3 separate regions of the Homo sapiens genome follow, and regions 1 and 3 are each linked to region 2. The links are contacts of gene promoters, found by promoter capture Hi-C in blood cells and fetal thymus (Javierre and others, 2016). All regions are on one chromosome and are shown on one strand. The core of a region is centred on a gene start or on the middle of the fragment in contact, and the rest is flanking DNA. Distances in the headings are between cores, read along the strand shown. Region 1 holds the start of PADI4 (peptidyl arginine deiminase 4). Region 2 holds the start of PADI2 (peptidyl arginine deiminase 2). Region 3 overlaps PADI4 (peptidyl arginine deiminase 4).

Evidence for each region. Contacts are between HindIII fragments. The CHiCAGO score rates a contact against its expected background, and 5 or more counts as called.
Region 1: a contact is called between the fragment with the promoter of PADI4 here and the fragment with the promoter of PADI2 in region 2, in 7 of 17 cell types (neutrophils, monocytes, megakaryocytes and 4 more). The highest score is 16.2, in neutrophils.
Region 3: a fragment that was not itself captured here is called in contact with the fragment with the promoter of PADI2 in region 2 in 7 of 17 cell types (neutrophils, megakaryocytes, erythroblasts and 4 more); the score reaches 15.7 in neutrophils.

Annotation. Positions count from the first base shown.
Region 1 is chr1:17,305,706-17,310,627 of GRCh38, forward strand. It overlaps PADI4 (peptidyl arginine deiminase 4), which reads left to right and starts at 2,492. Exons shown (of 16, transcript NM_012387.3): 1 at 2,492-2,609. The coding sequence starts at 2,518. The HindIII fragment of the contact is 10,543 bases long and covers 1-2,899 here.
Region 2 is chr1:17,117,454-17,122,151 of GRCh38, forward strand. It overlaps PADI2 (peptidyl arginine deiminase 2), which reads right to left and starts at 1,998. Exons shown (of 16, transcript NM_007365.3): 1 at 1,827-1,998. The coding sequence starts at 1,918. RefSeq lists silencers at 1,808-2,017, 4,540-4,698 and an enhancer at 2,589-3,123. The HindIII fragment of the contact is 8,283 bases long and covers 1-4,698 here.
Region 3 is chr1:17,354,540-17,359,444 of GRCh38, forward strand. PADI4 (peptidyl arginine deiminase 4) reads left to right here. Exons shown (of 16, transcript NM_012387.3): 11 at 1-148; 12 at 1,444-1,588; 13 at 1,818-1,920; 14 at 4,299-4,369; 15 at 4,741-4,869. Among named protein-coding and RNA genes, the nearest start is that of PADI6, 15 kb to the right of the region's middle. RefSeq lists an enhancer at 4,019-4,738. The HindIII fragment of the contact is 6,300 bases long and covers 1-4,850 here.

The DNA of each region.
Region 1 (4,922 bases), core at 1,242-3,741, 190 kb after region 2:
GCCACCACGCTAGCCTGAGCCCCACCGTCTGTCACCAGCCTGTGTGCAGCGGCCACCTCACAGGTCTTCTGGCCTCCTCCCGGGTCCCCTACAGTCTGTTCTCACATCACAGCCAGAGTGATCACGTTCAAGCAAGTTGGTTCGCGGTCCTTCTCTGCTCAAAATGACTCCAGGCTCCCCACGTTACTTGGAGCAGAGGCCAAAGCTCTTAGGATGCCCGAAAGGCCCTATATGATCGCACCCCGCCCTGGGCTGCTCTCCCCCTCCCTCACTGCATTTCAGCCACACTGGCCTCTTTGCTCTTTCTTGAACCCGCCAGGCATGTCCCTGCCTCAGGGCCTTTGTACCGATTGCACTGGCTGTTCTCTTGACTTGGAACCTTCTCCCTGTGTTCCTGGTAGCCTTTACCCTGTCCTTTTTCCTTTTTCTACCCCACTAACATACGATAGAATCCACTTACTGCATTTATTGCTTACTGGCTGTCTCTCTCCCAACAAAAACAAACAAACAAAAAGGCTCTATGAAGGCAGGATTTTTGTCCACTTTGTTCACAGCGTATCCACGGTGCCTGGAACAGTGCCTGGCCATCAATAGGCACTCAGTCAGTATTTGTTGAATTAACAAAACTGCTTTGGGGCTCGTCCTCTTTGTGGCTCGTTCACAGCAAATTTAAACCCCAAACTGCTGAAGAAAATAAGAAAGAAAAGAAGGAACAGAAGAAAACAACCTCAAGAGACCTAAGACTTGGGGTAGAGGCCAGCCCTCCCTCTGATTTGCTGTGTGACCGTGGGCAGGTCCCACTCCCTTTCTGTGCTTCAGTCTCCCCTTCTGCAAAACGAGGACTGGATTGGGTGTTCTCTAAGGGCCCTCCCAACTCTAACAATGGACAGCTCCCTCCTGCCACTTCCCAGTAGAAGCTCAAACTAGTTCTAATCATGCGGTCAGCCAGAGAAATTGGGTTTATTAACACTGTGTGCAGGCAGTCATGTAGATGCGTCAGAACGTCGGACCTGGCCACATCATCATCTGCTGGTACAGAAGATAAATTTTGAGCCCAGAGAAGGTGGTCTGAATCCAGATCCCCACTGTAGGGCTTATGAGACCTTGGGGGTCTCACTCAATCTCTCTAAGTCTTTGTGGTCTCATCTACACATGGGCATCCTGATAGGACGCACTCCATAGGGATGTTGAGATGAGGCAGGATTTGAACTAAAGCCTGTTTGATCCCACAGCCTGACTCTGAATTAATGAGGCAAATTCTTTGCTTCAAAGCCAAAGCAAGCAAACAAAAAACAAACGCAAGATATCCAACCCACGAAACGCTCTATGTTCACGCCAGACTCCCATGCATGCACCCTTTGAGTGCTCCTTGTTGGGACCCATCCACCACCCCCCAGTTGCCTCATTAAAGGCAGAGCCTGGCACCAATGGCCCAGGTGCAACCACAGCTCTGAGGCCACATGGGCATCCCCCTGGCAGGCGTGGCCCACACCTGCACTGTCTGGTCTGACACCCAGAGGCCCTGGCAAGAGGCAGGTATCCTGGAGCATGCAGAGAACATCAACTTCCATGCCAGGAAGCTCATCTTCTCTTCCCAGCTCTGCCGCATTCTAGCTCTGGCACCTTGGGCAAGAGCTAGTCACTTTTACTCTCTGAGCCTCAATTTTCCTTCTGTAAAATGGGTTGTAATAATAAGCCCATATACACCTTGTATTGTAGCGAGATGTAGCTGTGATACAGTCTGGAAAGCACGTGTCATATAGACAGGCAGCTAATGAATCTCACACTCTGGAACTGGACACCTTTGGTTCCAATTCTGGCCCTACCACTCTCGAGCTGTGGAAGAACTGCACCTCTGTTTTCTCCTCTGTAAAATGGGTATAATAATGGCACCAACCTCAGAGGGCTGCTGTGAGGGTGAAATAAGGGGATAATGGTATGATCTAGTTCACGGGTTTGTCGTAATGAGCTATTCTATGTGAAGTGCAGGAAAACGTGCCTGGCATAGAGAATGTGAGCTGTCATGTGGGTGGCCCAGGTGGAGAGACTTGTCCCAAGCCTGGTTGGTCTTTGAACGTGTAGCCTGGCCTGTGACTGCTTACCTAAAATCTCCCCGCTTTTCCCACCTTCTCCTCTCTGATATGCCTGTTTGACATAGGTGAGATTGGATAGATCAAGGTGTTCAGGGCCTCTAGGCAGGGATGGGACTGTGGGCATGAGGACCAGGACCCAACCCCTCAGCCCCACTCTCCACCCCAGGCTTTCTGAGCCATCCATCCTTCCCAAGAAACTGACAGAGCCACCCTGCCACTGGTACCAGCATTGACACCCATCTAGAGGTCCGAGGGGCAGCCCCAGGGCAGAGGAGATTTTGAGAGCCCACACCCCTGACCTGAGTGGGGAGGGGTTGAGCCTCTGGGCCACAGACCGCAGGTGCTGACTCATGGCCTCTGCTGGGCGATATAAAGGAACCAGCCCAGGGGCTTCCTACAGCCAGAGGGACGAGCTAGCCCGACGATGGCCCAGGGGACATTGATCCGTGTGACCCCAGAGCAGCCCACCCATGCCGTGTGTGTGCTGGGCACCTTGACTCAGCTTGACATCTGCAGGTAAGAGGGGGGCCTTCTGGGGTTTTGGAGGCAGGTCAGGAGATGCTGGATGACCCAGTTCTACTGACACAGGAGCATGTGTTTGGCCCAGGCTCTAGGCTCCAGCCTCTGCAGCCACTGCCAGGGGAGTAGCTGGAGAGAGAAGACCCCAGCAGCCCTGGGAAGTGCCAGTCTCATGGCTGTGGGTTCTTTGCCATGTACAAGTGCAAATTCCCCAGGAACACACGACAGATAAATTATTATGGGGCAAACCAGGCCATCCATCTCCCTGTCTTCATCGAGGCAACAGAAGCTTACAGAGAGTCTGTGACTTGCTCAAGGTCACACAGCACGTGTGCCCTGGAAGTAAGGTTAGCCCCTGGGCCTCCTGGTTCACAGCACAGTTTGTTACCCCACATCTCTTAGCTAAGCCTCCCTCAGTGGGTGCATAATAGCGTGGGTGGGGATGGCGAAACGGGGCTCTGTGGCGGCAGAGACTGAGGTAGGAAGCCTGGACCTGCTGCTGGCTAGCAAGGAGGCCTTGGGCAACTGAGCCTCAGTTGCCTCATCTGTGAAATGGGGATAATACTCACATCATGGGCTGGTTATAGGAATTCAATGTGAAAAAATGTGCAGATGTTGGCTGAGTACTTAGCACAGTGGTGGGCCCATCCTTGGTAGTTTTTATTTACTCATTTAACAAATGCTGAGTGCCATGCTCTGTGGCAGGGTCTGGGTTAAACAAGAGAGTTGAGGAATGCTCTCGGGGAGTGTGCAGGGTCATTGTTGTTATTGTAGAACAGGAATTAAAAGAAATTTTAAAACGTGTAAGCAAAAACTCAGTTCTATGTTAAAAAAAAAAAAAACAATTTTCCCTGGAAAAAAAAAAAAAAAAGAGCTGGAGTCCCTTAAAAATTAACTGCCTGTTTTTTTGTGGCTAGTGAGCCTTATTGCTCCTCTTTTTCCAGGCATTGTAAAGACCCTGTTTCTCCAGCTGTGCAGCTGCAAGGTCACTAGACAGATAAACTCAAGCTGTAAAAATTTTTTTCCTTAAAAAGTAAAAAATAATATAATGCATGTCTCAATTAAATAACTGTCTTTGTTTCTTGCCTCTATAATATGCTTCCCCCTGCACAGATCTACCCCCGCCCCATGAAATGCTTAAAAGATAACTTAACTCTTTGTTCAGGGCTCAGTCTTTTGAAATGTTAGCCTGACTGAGCCAGTGAATCTAAATAATAAATCCTCCTCAACCCCTCGGTCTCTCTGATTCCTAAATTATCCTGCAACAATTGCTGTTGTCAGGAATAGGAGTGGTTGCCCCTGGCTTCCCCATCCCAGTCTGGGCATCGGTGGCCCTAGAATGGTGCCCACAGGAGTGCCGGGGACATTTCTTTGCTACTGCCTGAGCCCCAGCAGCCAGAGAACAGCAGGAAATGTCGGGATGGTCTCCCAGGGCCACATGGTGGAGGCAGGAGACCAAGAAGTTGGGGAGAAAAGGAAAAAGAAAATCACCTGACATCATCTGAGGCGCCCCCAACTCCTCTGAGAATGGGTGTGAAGGAAATGACAGGAGCTGAAGCTAGCCCAGGGCCTCTCCCAGCATGCCCAGGCTAGCCCTCTACCCAGCGTCCATGAGTAGTAATCAAGATCACAAGTGCTTCCTCTGGCCCTAGAGAGGTGGGTGGACAGCTGGTCAGTGTTGGGCAGAGAGGAAGGCACTGCCCATTTCTCCCAGAAAGGATGGGGACTCCGGAGTTCACAGGGGCCTCTAAATCCTTCTTTTCTCCTCCTTCAGCCACACGTTGAGCCTGTCACTCTATCCCCTGAACATCTCACGTAACAATGGCTAATATTTACATCACACTTCCTACATTCAACTCATTCAATGGCCTTGGGAGGCAGGTAATGTTGTTATTCCCATTTTACAAAAGAGGAAACAGAGGCTCCAAGAAGTTAAGTAACCCACCTCAAGCCACACAGCTAATAAGTAGGGGAGCCAGGACTCAACCCAGGCAGCCTGACTCTAGGACCCTCCATTCTCCCCATGGGTCTCCGTTCCAGACCTTCCTGTCACTTCTTATCTGTTCTTAACATAGCCCCAGACAGCGCCTCCCTCCCATCTCCTGAGCAGCCATCGGCCTCTTCCTGAACCACACAGGTGGGAGGGCCACTCCCTCCTCACCTCCGCCCCTCATATTCATGCCTCCATAACTTTGCTCAAGCCATTCTCTCTGTCCCCAAAGTCAGGAACCCGGGAGGCAGAGGTTGCAGTGAGCCAAGATTGGGCTAGTGCACTCCAGCCTGGGTGACAGAGTAAGACTCTGTCTCAAA
Region 2 (4,698 bases), core at 748-3,247:
CTGGACAGTACTGGTCTAGAGCGCACTGCCCCTCTCTGTGGTGGTGGAGAACCTTAAGTGCCGGTGGGGGTTAGGGTCTTTGTGGTCGTTGAGACAGGACAAGGGGAATCGTCACACTGCTGCCCCCTGCTAGAGGGAGGCTGAGTCCATATCTGCCCCACTCTGTGCCCCTACCCCAGCTGGGCCTCTCTTTGCCAGGATAGAGCGATAGCAGGGCGCCTGAGCAGGAACCCTCCTTTGCTCCCCACCCCCGACTGGGAGGATCATGCCAGCTTTTCAGGCGGCACCAACCATGCCCCAGCAAATAAACAGGTGGGTATGGTGACAGCTGAGGCTTAGAGACCTGAGCACTCTGGCTCCGCGCCCACTCCCTAGCGGTGCCCAGTTCAGGGCTGGGGGTGGGGAAGGCAGGGGAGCTCTTGCACCCCACCAGAGCCTGGACCACCCTCCACTGCTGTGTTCTTGTTCTCAGAGACCACCCAGTCCACCTCTGAGGTTTACATGGGGGACAACTGAAGCCCAGGCCCAGGGGAAGGCAGAGGTTGAGGCCAGGGACAGAGGCATGGAGTGGGTCCCTAGTCCTGGGGCTTGTTGGTATCAGCGTGGCCAGTGCCTCTGCAGCGGTGGCAGGAGACTGGTTGGGCAGGTGGGAGGGCTGCCAGGGCTGTGTGGGGAGACACATGATGGGTTGGTGGGGGCCTGGGAGAGGCAGGGTGCTCCAGGTGTCAGGATGATTTGAGAGCCATAAACCACGATGGTGCCTCCGTGTGAGTTCAGCTTGAGGCAGAGAGGATAGGGGACTCATCCGGTGTCAGCACAGGGTCCCACCTCAGAGTCCTGCATGCTCCCTGCCCCCAGCACTGACCCCTCCAACCCTAGCAATGGGGAGGTTTTAAATGCTTGGAATAGAGGGGGCAGATCAAACCCCAGCATAACCCCACCCTTTCATTCACACCAGCCACACCTTTCCAAGGCCCCGTCCCATTACTCAGGGAGACAGATCATTGGACTTGGCTGCTTTCTGGGATTGCGGGGGGAGTGGTAGGGCCCTACCCTACCTTCAGCTGTCTCGGACATCCCGCACTCTACCAAGTTCTTGGACAGAGAGAAGGGGAGGGAGCAGAACTCTGAATCAGGATCCTTTTCCAACAAAGTACCCCGCTATACACCCCAAGTCCCCGTCGTCAGCTGGGTAGAATATTGTCCCTCTGTGGTCTCAGAATGAAGTCAGGGGAAGGTATCTGGGGACACGGAGCTCAGGGCCAGTGCCTGGGGACAAGCAACCACCAGCAGCCCCCACAGGGCGAAATCGGAGCCTGAGTAACCTCCAGGGCCGGATTCAGCCTCAGGGCAGCTCCCTTCGGGTCCTGCCCCAGTCCCCGGCAAGTCTCCGCGGAAGCTCCGCTGAACTGGGAGTGGGAAGCAGGAGAGGGGCTGGGTTGAGGTGGGTCCGAGGGGAAGTGAGGTGCGGAGGGGAAGTGAAAGGGGAGAGGACGGCAGGGAAGCTGAAGGGGTGTGAGGTCCCCCGGGAGGAGAACTGGAGAGGGCCAGACGGAGGGTTACGGGTGAAAGGGAGGGTCTGTGAGGGAGCTGGGGCTGAGGCTGTGTTAGGGGGTCTGGGAGAGTCTCAGGGTTTCTGGAAGGTGGACACAAGGTTCGGGGGTTGTCAGGTTTCTGGATGAGATTCTTAGGATTTCTGGGCTCGGGGGCTCGGGATGAGGGACAACTCGGGCTGGACAAAGGCTGTCCACGTCCCCGAGTCTGAGCGCGTCTCAGGATTTCTGGGCTCGAGATCTCGGCCCGGGCATCACGGTGGGCCGGCTCACCTGTAGACATCGGTCCAGAGGTAGGTGCCCAGCACGTACACCGCCTCCACGCGGCTCCCGTACTGCAGCCGCACGGTCCGCTCGCGCAGCATCCTCCCCGCCGCAGTGCCCGCGCTCGCTGGTCCGGGGCGGCCGGGAGCACCTGCAGCAGGTGCGCCTTCTCCAGCAGCCTGCGCCCCACGGCCCCGCGCGCAGCCTTATCCAGCGGCCGGTGGGCGGGGCGGCCCGCCCCAGTCCTCTCGCAGTGGGCTGCGGGCCTGTCCGTCAAGCGTGGTCCCGCCCCTAACTCGTCCCGCCCCGCTGAGGTCGTGGCGAAGTCATCAGGGACCAGTTTTGTGCTTTCCATGGTTGGATTGTCATTCTTTCATTCGACAAACCTTCGGTGGGCGCCCAGGTGTTGGAGGGCCCTAGCTCCCCTCCGGACGCCCCAGCCCAGTGGGGCTGAAAATGCAAATGTGGGAACACAAAGAGGGTGCCCTAACCCAGCCTGGGGGCCAGGAAGCCTTCCCAGAGAAGACGATCCTGGAACCTTCTTAAAGGAGGCGTTTGCAAATTAAAGGCGAGGAGAGGGAGCTGCCTGTGCAAAGCCGGGTGCAGCCCGGTACCCCCATCCCCCAACAGTCAGATGAACCTCACCATAGAGAAAACGGGAAGCGGTGGGGATGGGGAACCCGGCAGCTGAGGGAGACCAGGACGCCAAGCCAAGGCATTGGAGGGTGGGAGATGGGAGCCTGGAGTGGTTGTCTCCGCGAGCCGTGGTCGGGTGTGCTCGTGAAATGGGTCATTCTGGGCTGGGGAGGGGCAAGGAAGCCCCTGGCTGTGGCCAGAGCTGGAGAGGTGGGGACTGACCCGGCCACTGCTTAGGGACTGGGATTTTGGTGGCACCTGGTGACTGATAGGATGTGTGGGTGGAGGGAGAGGAGAGGGGTAAGGATTAGGGCCCCGGTTCTGGCCTGGGCCACCAAGGGAAGGGGGGTGCCACCCAGAGGTCATCGTGTGTCTCACAGAGGCTGAGATGTAGGATGACAATCAGTGTGGGCCTCGGCCAGCCCCTCCCATGTCCCAGCCCTTCCCCTGGGACCCAGTGGGAGTGCTGTTCAGACACATACATCAGCCCTGTGTGAGGAAGTGGTCTTTGGTAGGTGAGGACAGAAACTGAGGGGGGGTGGGCAGAGGCCGTGGGAGGGAAGGAGTGGGGCGGAGGGGATGTGTGTTTGGGAAGGAGTTAGAGCTGATGGAAGATGGAGCTCCAGGAACGGGTGCCCCCAGACAAGAGGGGTGAGGCCCACAAGTGCCCAGTGCTGATATACCCAGCCCTTGGACTCCAACCTTCTCCCTGAGGCGGCCCAAATTAGGAGGTGGTGAAGAGCCCAGCTGCTTCTGAGTGGCAGGGATTTGGGAGGAATGTGAGTGGGGAAGAGGGAAGGCCCGAGTTTTAGCCAGGAGGTCATTTGTCCCCCAAAGGCACAGCTCACAGACCCAGGGAGAGGCCAGTAACTGTTTTTTTTTTTTTTTTTTGAGACAGAGTTTTCCTCTTGTTACCCAGGCTGGAGTACAATGGCGCCATCTCAGCTCATTGCAACCTCCGCCTCCCAGGTTTAATTGATTCTCCTGCCTCAGCCTCCCAAGTAGCTGGGATTACAGGCAGGCACCACCACACCCAGCTAATTTTGTATTTTTAGTAGAGACGGGGTTTCTCCATGTTGGCCAGGCTGGTTTTGAACTCCTGATCTCAGGTGATCTACCTGCCTCGGCCTCCCAAAGTGCTAGGATTACAGGCGTGAGCCACAGCGCCCGGCCGAGGCCAGTAACTTCTGATGAACTCCAGGCACCCGGCTGAGCACATCCTCCAATCAGGAGGAATCTCTCGGGTGGCCACCTGCCAAACTGGGACAAAACTTGTGTAGCTTGGAGAGACTTCGAGGCGCCCCCAGAGGTGAGCTCGTGTCTGGGCACCCCTCTGCCACGAGTGACTTTGGAGCCCTTACTGTGTGACAGATAACGGGCACCCACCAGGGTTCTCACCTTCCTGGGGCTCTAACTTTCATTTGACTCATGGGGAGACTGGGGCCAGAGTGGGGGAGGACACTGTACCCCCCACTGACGGAGACCCCGGGCAGCTCATAACAGGACACTGGGCAAGATAGTGATAACATCAGACCGCAATACCCAGGGGAGCTGGAGTAAGAGCGGGCACTTACTGCTTTCTTTCTGTGGGTCAGGCACTGTTCCAAGCGGCTCTTTTCATGTATTAGAGTTAGATCACTGAACCCTCCCAGTAACTCCGCCACTTTACAGATGAAGAAAGTGAGCTGTGAGGAGGTGGGGGAATTGACTCTGGGTTGCAGAGCTCCTAAGAGTGGCAGAGGGAGGAGCTTGCAGGGCCACTGGGGTGGAGGCAGGGGGCAAGGCCGAGTGAGGGCAGGGGCAGAATGCTGTCCATGCTTTGTAGATAAGGAAGTCGCAGTTCTAGGCCCAGCTCTGCTTTTGTGCCGCCTTGGGCCAGGTACCCTGCCATTCGGAGCCCCATTTTCTGCCTCTGTGAAGTAACTGATCCCTCAGCACGGTGTAAGGACGGTATTAAACGAGACAACAAGGTGCAGAAAATACTAGCACAGAGCCTGGCACAAGGCTCAAGAAATGAAGCCCCCTCCCCTTAAAAACCCAATTCAGACCTGGCCACCCACACTCAGGACTCCTGCCCGGGCTCAGGCCATCATGTTGGGCCCAGAGCCTGGTTGATGAGACAGGAGTTTCCTGGTGCCCAGAGGTTTAAAATAGCTGAAGTAGTCACAGCTGTTGGTGGATTCAGGGCCGGAGGTCGCATGCATCACGGCTGCTCCCACCTCTCCCCTGGGATCCGGAAGAGCCA
Region 3 (4,905 bases), core at 451-2,950, 240 kb after region 2:
ATTTTGGCTATGTAACTCGAGGGCCCCAAACAGGGGGTATCAGTGGACTGGACTCCTTTGGGAACCTGGAAGTGAGCCCCCCAGTCACAGTCAGGGGCAAGGAATACCCGCTGGGCAGGATTCTCTTCGGGGACAGCTGTTATCCCAGGTAAGGAGGGGAGTAACAGGAAGGGGTGGCCAGGACCCAGGTATGCCGTAGAAAAGCAGAGGCCAGAGTGGAAGCCTTGCCTTCCTGCTTCCGATTCTAGACAGCCCAACAGACTTGAGGGAGTGTGAGAGGAATCCAAGCGCAGGGTGAGGAATGCGGGCTTTGGAGCCCATAGACCCAAGTTCAATTCCAGCCCTGCCACTTACCCTCTTTCAGTCAGTGAATATTTACTGAGCATCCAAAATGTTCTGGGAGCTGGGAATGCAGCCGTGGACAAGAAAGACAAGTCCTTACCACTACTCTAGTAGGGAAACAGATGATAGAAAAGTAGACAAGATAACTTCAAATGACAAAAACAAAAGAGAGGGGCACGGGAGGAATAGGAACTGTTAGGGTGACCAGGGAGGTCCTCTCTGGGGAAGGGGCTTTTGAACTGAGGCCTAATGACAGAAGGGACAGGGCCACCTGGAGATCTGGGACAGAGAGTTCCTGGCAAATGAAAGTGCATGTGCAAAGGCCCTGAGGCAGGAATGAGCTCCTGCGTGCAAGGCCAGGATGGCTAGAACCTATTGAACAAGAAGAGGCTGGGCACAGTGGCTCACACCTGTAATCCCAGCACTTTGGGAGGCCAAGGCAGGTGGATTACCTGAGGTCAGGAGTTCGAGACCAGCCTGACTAACATGGCGAAACCCCGTCTCTACTAATGCAAAAATTAGCTGGGCCTGGTGATGCATGCCTGTAATCCCAGCTACTCGGGAGGCCGAGGCAAGAGAATCGCTTGATCCCGGGAGGCGGAGGTTGTAGTGAGCCGAGATTGTGCCAGCCTGGGCAACAGAGCAAGACTCTGTCTCAAAAAAAAAAAAAAAAGTGAGGAAGAACAAGGCACTGCAACACTAATTTTTTTTTTTAGGAGAAAACTGAGGCTCAAACAGGTGAAGGAATGTCCCCAAGGCCACATGGCTAACAAGAGATCACCGACTTAGGTCAGACTGGCTCTAAGCCCCATGTGTACCCAGAATACCAGCATCTCATCTAACTCAAGAGGCAGTGCTTTCTGAGGCTAAGCTCTGTTCTACTTACCTTAGTGACTCTGTGCCTCAGTTTCCCCCAATAAAACTAGAATGACAATTCCTTGATTTCTCAAATGTTAGGGGATAAAATAAAGGCATTCTAGACTCCTGCATCCCTTTCTCAGCTGAAGGAGAACCCTGACCTTTTTGCCAAGCCCCTTGTCCTTCAGGGACTTCCCTGTAGCCCTTGCTGCCGATAACACCCCTTTAACCCTGCCATGACAGCAATGACAGCCGGCAGATGCACCAGGCCCTGCAGGACTTCCTCAGTGCCCAGCAGGTGCAGGCCCCTGTGAAGCTCTATTCTGACTGGCTGTCCGTGGGCCACGTGGACGAGTTCCTGAGCTTTGTGCCAGCACCCGACAGGAAGGTACAGTCTTGGGGGCTGCCTCAGGAAGCCATGCCTCCTTCCTGGGTAGACCCTCTGCCTGGGGTGGGAGCAACTTTACTTGTCTATTTCTCCTTCACCCTTAGGATGGCAGTAGAGGAGGTGGCCAGCTTGGGTCCAAGTCCACACTACTCCCACCCTCAGCAGATCCACCCTCGTTGGGAGCTCCAGGGGCAAAGCTGACTTCTAACCCCAGTGTTTCTGCCTCCAGGGCTTCCGGCTGCTCCTGGCCAGCCCCAGGTCCTGCTACAAACTGTTCCAGGAGCAGCAGAATGAGGGCCACGGGGAGGCCCTGCTGTTCGAAGGGATCAAGAGTAAGTCGGCCCTGCCTTGTTCTCCTGTCTGTGCACCTTCCTGCTTCCCATAGTCCGCTGTTGCCTGGAGGGAATCATCCAGGCAATAGGGTAGCATCTGAGCACCTACTGTGCGCCAGGCACTGTGCCAAGTGCTAGGGAGACTGCATGAACAGGGCAGAACAGCTTGCTGCCCTGTGGGCTCACAGGCCAGGGGGAAGTGAGTCAAAAGAACAGCTCCAACACAGGGGCTTTGAGGGGTGTCTGAGTGGATGGAGCTCAGGGAAGGCTTCTTGGAGGAGGCAGAGGCCAAGCAGTAGCATGCAAGTAGGGGTTGGCTGGGCAAACGGGGCAGGGAAATGAGAGGAAGAGAGATACCACAGGCAGAGGGACGGGGGTGGGGCGGCTCAGAGGCAGGAGAAAGCACGATGTGTGTGAGGACCTCGGGGAGGTTCGGTATAGCTGGAGCACAGATGAAATATTACTCTCTCAGCAGAGCTCACAGACATGGGCCAGGCCCCGGGCTGAGATGCCTCTGTGGCTGAGAGCTCCACCTCAGATCTGAGTATGTTGTGTGGCATCAGGAGAGGGCTGACCTGTTTCTTCCTCTCTCGATGGGATCTCTTTGGAGATAAGATAATTTAGCGTTAATGCAAGGCAAAATGTTCCAGTGAACAAGTTTCATGGTTCAACTTTATAATAATTATAAGTAAACCTGTTAAATTTTTCTGGACATTCTTTTCTTTTGAAACGAAGTTTTCCTCTATTGCCCAGGCTGGAGTGCAATGGCGCGATCTCGACTCTCTGCAGCCTCTGCATCCCGGGTTCAAGTGATTCTCCTGCCCCAGCCTTCCGAGTAGCTGGGATTACAGGTGTGCACCACCACACCTGGCTAATGTTTTGTATTTTTAGTAGAGATGGGGTTTTGCCATGCTGGCCAGGCTGGTCTCGAACTCCTGACCTGGTGATCCACCCACCTCGGCCTCCCAAAGTGCTGGGGTTACAGGCATGAGCCACCACGCCTGGCTTAAAACAAGGACATTTCTTATTGACAGCAACTAAATGGTACTTGTAGCATTTTTATCACACAGTAGATTCCATCCATTCACTATACTTTTCTGAGCTGTCTGTCCTGCATGCAAGTAGATATTTTTAATGTTGTCTGTTTTCTGTGCTGTTCCTGTAAGTGTGCTATTAAAATACACTAAACTAGGCTGGGCGCGATGGTTCATGCCTGTAATCCTAGCACTTTGGGAGGACGAGGCGGGTGGATCACGAGTTCAGGAGTTCAAGGCCAGCTAGGCCAAGATGGTGAAACCCCGTCTCTACTAAAAATACAAAAATTAGCCGGGCGTGGTGGCGGGTGCCTGTAATCCCAGCTACTTGGGAGGCTGAGGCAGGAGAATCACTCGAACCCGGGAGGTGGAGGTTGCAGTGAGCCAAGAATGTGCCACTGCACTCTAGCCTGGGTGACAGAGCAAGACTCAGTCTCAAAAAAAAAAAAAAAAACAAGAAAATATTAAACTAGGCCAAGTGTGGTGGCTCACACCTGTAATCCTAGCACTTTGGGAGGCTGAGGCGGGTGGATCACCTGAGGTCAAGAGTTTGAGACCAGCCTGGCCAACGTGATGAAACCCCGACTTTACTAAAAGTACAAAAATTAGCTGGGCGCAGTGGTGCGCACCTGTAATCCCAGCTACTGGGGAGGCTGAGGCAGGAGAATCGCTTGAACTCGGGAGGTGGAGGTTGCAGTGAGTCAAGATCGCACTACTGCACTCCAGCCTGGGCGACAGAGCAAGGCTCTGTCTCAAAACAAAAAAAAAATTACACTATAAAAATATATTTTAGGCCGGGCGCGGTGGCTCACGCCTGTAATCCCAGCACTTTGGGAGGCCGAGGCGGGCGGATCACGAGGTCAGGAGATCGAGACCATCCTGGGTAACACGGTGAAACCCCGTCTCTACTAAAAATACAAAAAATTAGCCGGGCGAGGTGGCGGGCGCCTGTAGTCCCAGCTACTCCGGAGGCTGAGGCAGGAGAATGGCGTGAACTCCAGGGGGCGGAGCCTGCAGTGAGCCGAGATTGCGCCACTGCACTCCAGCCTGGACGACAGCGAGACTCCGTCTCAAAAAAAAAAAAAAATAATAATAAAAATAAAAATATATTTTAAAAAGAATTTAAATGAGGTGAGAACAACATTTTTAATGAGAACTTATACTGCTAAAATATTGTATTAAAGATATTTGACTTGCAGATGCTCACAGCAAACCTGTATGGTAAGAATTATTACTGACTCCATTTTATAGATGGGAACACTGAGTCCCCCCCCGGCACTGGCTGGGAAGAGGGAAATCGACCTCTAAGTTCATTTGCCTTTTTTTTCTTTTTCTCCATGACAGAAAAAAAACAGCAGAAAATAAAGAACATTCTGTCAAACAAGACATTGAGAGAACATAATTCATTTGTGGAGGTAGGAGCCTGGGTGCCTACACCCCAGCAGACCTGACGCCCTGTCCCCGGCTCAGCCACTTTCCCAGTGATTAGAGGCACACAGAGGCTCAGGGTCTCAGGATGCGCTGGAAGACAGAGACACAGAAGCAAGGGCAGAAGCAAAGACTGGGAGAGGCTGAGGGAGCAGAGGGAATGGGAGGCCCCAGGGTCCCCCGAGAGCACTGGCCAGAGGCCCCTCTGTGCAGTGAGGCCTGGCAGCCACCTTCACTGCCTTCCTGACACTGTCCCAGGTCCTACCCTCCGGCAGGGGGCCTCAGCCCCACACTGTCCCCCACCCCCACCCCCGACTGCCATCAGTCCCCCACTCACTGCCCCTGCCCCTTCCCCAAGAGATGCATCGACTGGAACCGCGAGCTGCTGAAGCGGGAGCTGGGCCTGGCCGAGAGTGACATCATTGACATCCCGCAGCTCTTCAAGCTCAAAGAGTTCTCTAAGGCGGAAGCTTTTTTCCCCAACATGGTGAGGAGGTGGCGGCTTTAAAACCCCAGGGTGTGG